2 separate regions of the Homo sapiens genome follow, and region 1 is linked to region 2. Evidence: promoter capture Hi-C in 16 types of primary human blood cells and fetal thymus (Javierre and others, 2016). All regions are on one chromosome and are shown on one strand. Each heading gives the region's core, a stretch centred on a gene start or on the middle of the fragment in contact. The rest is flanking DNA. Distances are from core to core; before and after follow the strand shown.

Region 1 (4,001 bases), core at 499-2,998, 100 kb after region 2:
CTCCAGAAGGATAGATGACTAAGGGAAATTAATAACAGGCACCATTTAAATCTGGTTCCTGATAAATCCTGGACCGTATCTTTAACACATCAAGAGCTATTATCATCAAGATCCCATTTGCCTGTCAATAGGAAGTCATTTTACACCAATAAATCGCCCAAAACCCAAATTAAGTGGCATCCTTCTCACCCCACCCCCCCCCCCAGTATCTGCTACTTATCAATGAATGAATGCAGATCATCAAAAGATCTGGGTCTTTCTGACAGATGTATGACAAACTGCGAGACAGTAATCCCCAAACACTTCTCTCATCCTAAAAATAAACCATTTACATCAGGTTGGCGGTTAGGGCGGGGACCAGGAGGCAAATACCTGCAGCTGGGGTATTTTCCTGCAGCTGGGGGTGGAGCCGGGGACGTACCTTCCATTTTCATTCCCTCTTTCTGTTCTATATACTTCCTAAAGCAGATTCTATTAACCAAGAACTGGGAATAAGCAAGCAAGCAAACAAACAACCTGTGATTTTGCAGAAATGACTGAAAACGGAAATTCACTTACTTCCTGTACTGCACCGGGGGCTTCGAAGTGATGAAAGGTCTAAGCAGGGTCTGTCCTCGACCCTCCCAGCACCAGACCGTCGGGTAGTACGTTTCTGTAACCACGGGACAGTGGTCTTGAAGGAAGCGGCTGAAACTCTCACCCCCGGTCACTAACTGGGGTTTCTGAAGGGAAAAGCAGTATCAGAGAAGGGCCCAGAGCAAAGTTTCTGCCAACCGTAAACCAGAAACCGGCAAAGACTTGTCGCTCGCGCGCGCGCTTCCTCCGATTACAACTCTTTCTGGAGGGCTGACGCAAAAAATTCACAGTCACAGAGGACTGAAACGGGGGTTTCGCCAATGCCCCGAGGGGAAGGCGAGAATCGCGATAAGGGAGTTTGTTTGTTTTTAACTCCGCCTCCCGGGTTCAGGGGATTCTCCTGCCTCAGCCTCCCGAGTAGCTGGGATTGCAGGCGTCCGCCACCACGCCCGGCTAATTTTTTGTAATTGTAACGGGGTTTCACCATTTTGGTCAGGCTGGTCTCGAACTCTTGACCTCAGGTGATCCACCCGCCTCGGGCTCCCAAAGTGCTGAGATTACAGGCGTGAGCCACCGTGCCCTGCCCGGAGTCATTTTCAAAAGCGCCACGGCGTTCCCGAGTGCGCCGCCGGCTTCGCGATCGGTGACCGGGCAGCGCCGCAGCGCAGAAGTCAGCCGGGTTCAGGCTGCGCTCCGAGGACCACCCGGCCGGGACCCCCAGGGGGCGGGCGAACGGGCGGGGCCTGTTGGCTTTCCCGCGCGCGCTGGGGGCTGCCGCTCGGGAGCAGCTCGCCGCCTATCCCCGGGGCTGCCGACCGCCCCTGGCCGCGCAGCCTCGCGCCGCGCCTGCTACCCTAGCTCCTGGCCCAGCAGCCCGCGGCCCTGCGCCACCCCCGGCTCACCTTGGCAATGCTGCTCAGGTAGTAGAAGGCATAAGCGACGCTGAAGCCCAGGATAAGGGATAAGCCCACCCCCGAGCCGAAGAACCCCACCCGGACTTGGTGTTCCAGGTAGAGGGAGAGCTCCCGGGACAACATCCGCAGGTCCATGGCCAGGCGCTGCATGGCCCCCGAGCGCGGCGCGCGGGTCCTGCGGCGGGAGGAGAGCCGGCTGGCGAGCGGGCGAGAGCGGGCGAGAGCGGACGCGGCGCCGCTGCCTACTCCCGACCACAGTGTCTCCTGCCTGGCGGAGCGCGGCTTCCGACAACGGGCGGGGCGGAGCGGCCCAGGGAGGCGTAGCCCGAGACTCCAACGCCGCCCGCTCCGCCCCGGCTTCCTGGAGCCGCCCCCACTGCCAGCCACTCAGGAACCTTCCAGAAGCGCGGTTCCAAGACCGGCCACCGGGAGGGCGGGCGGACTGGGTTCTCCCAGCTAGGTCGCAGTGGGCGATGGGGATCCCCAAGGGTGGGCCGAGAGCTGACGGATCGGCAGCGCTGGTTAAGGCCCCGCACCTGCAGCCCCAGTGACCTTGAACGATTCCGCTCTGCGGCGGGTGTCCCTAAACTAGCAGTTTAGGGTGTCAGGTAAGCGTGCCTTGCATTCAAAGATTTGGGGAGTTAATGCCAAAGATATGTTAGCAGGTAAGAATCCCACATCCTCTAGACGTTTGCGTTGGTCCTCAAGACTATGGAAAGAGAAAAAATATTCTATGAGCATTCAACAGTGAGGACATCATACTCGACTCTGAATCACTCTGTGAATCTTTTTAGTTGCTAAGTGTCACTTAAATGAGAAGTGGTCTCTGAAAATAAATGAAAAGGTCAAGAATAGCAACCGGGATTCAATTGTTAAAAGCCTATTTGTGGTTCATTAATGCTTTGAATTTAGAGACTTATGGAAATTCACACCGATTACCTAATGTACAGACAAGAAACCATTTATGAAGTAGGGTCTCCTAGGCTTATTTATGGCAATATGATAAATCAGGATACTTATGGTTATCTGAAATGGTTAGAATTTAATAGCCTATTCCTACTCTTATGAACTCCTTCCTCAGAGAGGTAGGAAGAATGGCAAGACTTAAACAGACGAAAGAAGGGAAAGTGCTGTCTAGATTATGAAAAATGCCAAAGGATTGTAAATTAATGATGTAATTTAGATGGGGACATGAGACGGACCAGAAGTGAGCAATTTATTTGGCTCCGATTTGGTCATTGCAACTTGGTGGTTGGCTGCAGCACCCAAAATAATTCAATTACCTTTACTGAGCCTGTTTTTTTCTTGTTTTAATAATCTGTAGCGTAACAATTTCTACTTTATAGAGTTCCCGAGAGGACAAGATAGTGTATATACTGGACTCCCCGTGAGCAGAAGTAATTTTCACGCTCTGGCTCTCACACCTGAGCACACATAGCAAACGTGAATGCATATGCTGGTTGCCATACTTGAAACTTCATAGCATTCTTCATAACCCCTGCACCAGCCTTCTGCACTACCTACCAATAAATGCATGCGTATTTCAGTTTAAGTTTGTTCTGTTTTGTTTTGTTTTGTTTTTTGAGACAGAGTTTTGCTCTTGTTGCCCAGGCTGGAGTGCAATGGCGAGATCTCGGGTCACTGCAACCTCCACCTCCCGGGTTCACGTGATTCTCCTGCCTCAGCCTCCCGAGTACCTGGGATTACAGGCATGCACAACCACACCCAGCTAATCTTGTATTTTCAGTAGAGACAGGGTTTCACCATGTTGACCAGGCTGGTCTGGAACTCCTGATCCACTCGCCTCGGCCTCCCAAAGTGCTGGTGAGAGGTGACAACGTGCTAGCAGCCCTCGCTCGCTCTCAGCACCTCCTCAGGCCAGGGCATCCACTCTGGCCGCGTTTGAGGAGCCCTTCAGCCCGCTGCTGCACTGTGGGAGCCCCTCTCTGGGCTGGCTGAGGCCGGAGCCAGCTCCCTCTGCTTGCAGGGAGGTGTGGAGAGAGAGGCGTGGGCGGGAACCGGGGCTGCTGTGCCCCGCGATCACGGGCCAGCGGGAGTTCCGGGTGGGTGTGGGCTCGGCGGGCCCTGCACTCTGAGCGCCGGCTGGCACCGCCGGCCCTGGCCAGTGAGGGGCTTAGCACCCAGACCAGCAGCTGTGGAGGGTGCCCCGGGTCCACCAGCAGTGCCAGCCCGCCAGCGCTGCACTGGAATTCTTGCTGGGCCTCAGCTGCCTCCCCACGGGGCAGGGCTCAGGACCTGCAGCCCGCCATGCCTGAGCCGCACCCCCCGCCCCACTGTGGGCTCCTGCGGGGCAAGCCTCCCCCACGAGCGCTGCCCCCTGCTCTGCCAAGCCGGGTTCCATCCACCGCCCAAGGGCTGAGGAGTGTGGGGCTGACGGGGCAGTACTGGTGGGCAGCTGCGGCTCCCCTGTGGGATCCACTAGGTGAAGCCAGCTGGGCTCCTGAGTCTAGTGGGGACTTGGAGAACCTTTATGTCTAGCTAAGGGATTGT
Region 2 (3,740 bases), core at 712-3,211:
TAATATTGATTGAGAAAGGTGAGACAATAGCATATTTTCCTCAGTTAGCAATGATAAAGGAGTTCTAGCTCGTAAGCCAGGACAAATTTTGGAATTGTGCTTCCAAAGTCACATATCTGACCCAACAGTGATACTCTGCATTCTGCCTAAAAGGGAAAAAGTGGCTCTATTACAGTCCTAGTTTCCTCATTTCCTCACATGCTCTAGGCCTGAATTTGCGACTTCCAAATTAAGCACGTTTTAAAGCACTTCTCATCCTACTCCCATGTCTAATTCCATTGATTAGATTTTTTGCTTTTCAAAAAAAAAAAAAAATTCACCAGGCACAGTGGCTCAGGCCTGTAATCCCAGCACTTTTGGAGGCCCAGGTGATCACTTGATCCCAGGAGTTCGAGACCAGCCTGGGCAACATGGCGAAACGCCGTCTCAACAACAAATAGAAAACTTAGCCTAACATGGTAGCGGACGCCTGTAGTCTCAGCCACTCAGGGAGGCGGAGGTGGGAGGATTGCTTGGGGCCGGGGAGGGAGGTCAAGGCTGCAGTGAACAGTGATTACACCACTGCAATCCAGTCTGGGCGACAGAGCGAGACCCCGTCTCAAAATAAAATAATAACTTAAAACTTTATTCGTGTTGGTGTCCTGTGTAAAGCAGAAACTAAGTACTTGACCAGAAGACAAAGTGAATATAGCATAGTTCACTGCAACCTGGATGTTTTCAACTGAAATCTATGTTTTATCCACTTTTTTAAAAAAGCCAATGCTGGTGGGGGGACTAACCACACCTTATGCCACCAAGTAGCGCTTTTGTTTCCTGCGAAGCTTATTTATTGAGATATCGTTTTGTAATACTATCTAGATACTGTGTGCTGCGATTCCTGTTTAAAGGAATCTCATTGCAGCTAAGACTACAGAAAACATGGTTCATAGTACTTCTCAAATCGCAAAGCTTGAGCTCCTTCCTCCTCCTCTTCCTCCCTCCCCTGGTCCCCGCTGCGTCCCCATCGCCCCGGAAAATAAAGCACACGCCGGATTTTCGGACGCATCATTGAGAGGCGGAGGGAGAGGAGGTAGTCTTCGAATTGTTGGACTTGCTATCCCATTCTGCCTGTGCAAAATAAACCCCCATAGTAAAATAATCTTAACCCGTGATAAAAATCGAGGACCCAATTCTCTTTGGTTCGCCTCTCTCCATCGCTATAAACTTCACTGCGGCCCTCAATGCACTCATTTCTACTCCAGAGCCGCCCTACCTGTGCCGAGACCCCCATTTGCAGCATGAGTTACTCTATGACCTTGGGCCCGCTCCCCTCCCAAACTGAAGGCTGTAAAACCAAGACCCCACATCGCGCCCCGCAAACTGCAGAGGCCTCCAGGCTCAGGCCGGGTCAGCGGGTTGCGCCAGGAGGCGGCGAGGGACTGGCTCCGGTGAAGCGCCGGGAAGAGAAAACGCAGGGGGCGGAGACGGGGCCCGGAGCTACCTGCGGGACCAGCACTGGCGCTGCCCCGGTGCTAGCAATGGCTGCGCGCCACCTCGGGGCTCCCGGAGCCCTCGCGGCAGTGCTGGGAACTCCGGCCCTGCCCCGTCGGCGGTCACGACCCCTTATGAACTTCGACCGCCCAGCAAACAGCGGCAGGTGGTGCGCGGACACGCGAGCACGTTAGCTGCCTACCTCAAGCGACGGCGTCTTGGAGCCTAGAGCCTCCCACCTCCCTCCCAGGGGCGCGAAGAGCTGGGACCGGAGCAGTAGGAAGGGGCGTGCGAGGCAACACGCCACCGAGGGTGGAACAGGAAGAGGGAGAACTGTCCGCTCCCTGAAGGGGCTGGCAAAAGAGAGGTGAAGACACAGGCGGCGGGGACCGTCAGGGACGCTCGCGTACCTTCCTTTTGCCTGGCGGAGGGTCAGACTAGCGCCAGCGGATCGCCTCACATCCGGGTATCAGGAGACACTCAGCTGCTTCTGCTGCGGCCGCCGCCTCCCCCGCGGCGCAAACACCAAACTTCCGGCGACGACGGCGACGCCTCGCTCGTCAGATGGGAGTTACCTGTGACCGTCTTGGGTGCGCTTGCGCAACGCTCCTCTTCAGCCCTAACCGGCTCAGCTGACGTGCCCAGAAGACGAAGATGGCCGCCACGCTCACTGCGTGTCACGCAGTTTTTCACCCCGGCCCGGACGGCTGGGCGTCGAGGAAAGGCGAGCTAGTGTCCATCCTCAGCGCAGGCGCGGTGGGAGGCCTAGCGCGCGCGCCTCCGCGGGTGGTCGCCTGGCAGGGAAGTGGCGGCGCCCCCTAGCGGCGGCCGCTTGTCGTTCCTGGGGTCATCGCTTTGAGCTGAAAACCACCCAGGCCCCCAGCGGTTGTGGTTTACCTTGGAAATTTGTCGCAACTGGTTGCCATGTAGGTTTTGGCTGCTTCTGTCTGCGATGTATAATCCAAGTGCCTTTGGTCTTCCATATGAGCCAATGTAAAGAAGGAGGGTGGGGCCGGGCGCGGTGGTTCACGCCTGTAATCCCAGCACTTTGGGAAGCAGAGGCGGGTGGATCATTTGAGGTTAGGAGTTCGAGACCAGCCTGGCCAACATGGCCAACATGGTGAAACCCCGTCTCTACTAGAAATACAAAAATTAGCCGGGTGGTAGTGGCGTGCGACTGTAATCCCAGCTACTCGAGAGGCTGAGGCGGGAGAATCCCTTGAGCCTGGGAGGCGGAGGTTGTGGTGAGCTGAGACTGGGCCACTGCACTCTAGTCTGGACGAGTGAGACCCTGTCTCAAATAAAAAAAAAAGGAGGGTGCAGTCCCTACACTGCCCTCCAGCACCTCCAAAAAATGCAGGGCTTCGCCCTCTCCTTGCACACTTTCTTCCTGTGTATCAGAGTGCAAGAATCATCAGAAATTGTAAAATATTCTGCTAGACTTAGTCAGACTGAGTGTTCAGACAAAGCTTTGGCTCGCTCTTGGACGCCTCTAGAGATAGAATCCAAGATTCTATCACTAGGATTCATGGTTCCCACACTTCTTTCTTTTGTGACAGGAAGGATCTTGCTGTGTAGCCCTGGCTGGTGTGCAGTGGCACAGTAACGGCTCACTGCAGCCTCGACTTGGGCTCAAGCGATCCCACCTGCCTCAGCCTCCCTGAGAACTGCATGTATGAAGCCCACGACACCATGCCAGGCTAATTTTTTTTTTTTTTTTTGAGATGGAGTCTCACTCTTGTCACCCAGGCTAGAGTGCAATGGCACGATCTCGGCTCACTGCAACCTCCGCCTCCCAGGTTCAAGGAATTCTCCTGCCTCAGCCTCCTGAGTAGCTGGGACTACAGGTGCCTGCCACCATGCCCGGCTAATTTTTTATTTTTAGTAGAGACGGGGTTTCACCATCTTGGCCAGGCTGGTCTCGAACTTCTGACCTTGTGATCCCACCTGCCTCGGCCTCCCAAAGTGCTGGGATTACAGGCGTAAGCCACCGCGCCCGGCCGCCAGGCTAATTTTTTTATATTTTGTAGGGATAAGGTCTCACTGAGACCAGCCCAGGCTGATCTCGAACTCCTGGCCTCAAGTGATCCTCTCTTCTCTCCTTGGCTTCCCAAAGCGCTGGGACTACAGGCCTAAGCCACTGCTCCGGCTACTAGACTGCTTTTGAACATATGTTCTGTGCTACCCTTTGCTTATTTGCGGAACTGTGAGGCTAGTTCGGTACTTCTGCATTTCAGAATGGGAAGAGGTGATCATAAATGGGTTTTCCC

What was found. Contacts are between HindIII fragments. The CHiCAGO score rates a contact against its expected background, and 5 or more counts as called.
Region 1: a contact is called between the fragment with the promoter of ABHD3 here and the fragment with the promoter of ESCO1 in region 2, in 13 of 17 cell types (monocytes, activated CD4 T cells, naive CD8 T cells and 10 more). The highest score is 8.3, in monocytes.

The regions. Positions count from the first base shown.
Region 1 is chr18:21,703,026-21,707,026 of GRCh38, forward strand. It overlaps ABHD3 (abhydrolase domain containing 3, phospholipase), which reads right to left and starts at 1,749. Exons shown (of 9, transcript NM_138340.5): 1 at 1,479-1,749; 2 at 559-722. The coding sequence starts at 1,640. It also overlaps a transcript of MIB1 not described here. RefSeq lists enhancers at 477-626, 2,087-2,156 and a silencer at 1,147-1,916. The HindIII fragment of the contact is 12,122 bases long and covers 1-4,001 here.
Region 2 is chr18:21,598,743-21,602,482 of GRCh38, forward strand. It overlaps ESCO1 (establishment of sister chromatid cohesion N-acetyltransferase 1), which reads right to left and starts at 1,962. Exons shown (of 12, transcript NM_052911.3): 1 at 1,881-1,962. RefSeq lists enhancers at 306-600, 1,668-2,187, 3,512-3,591. The HindIII fragment of the contact is 1,991 bases long and covers 947-2,937 here.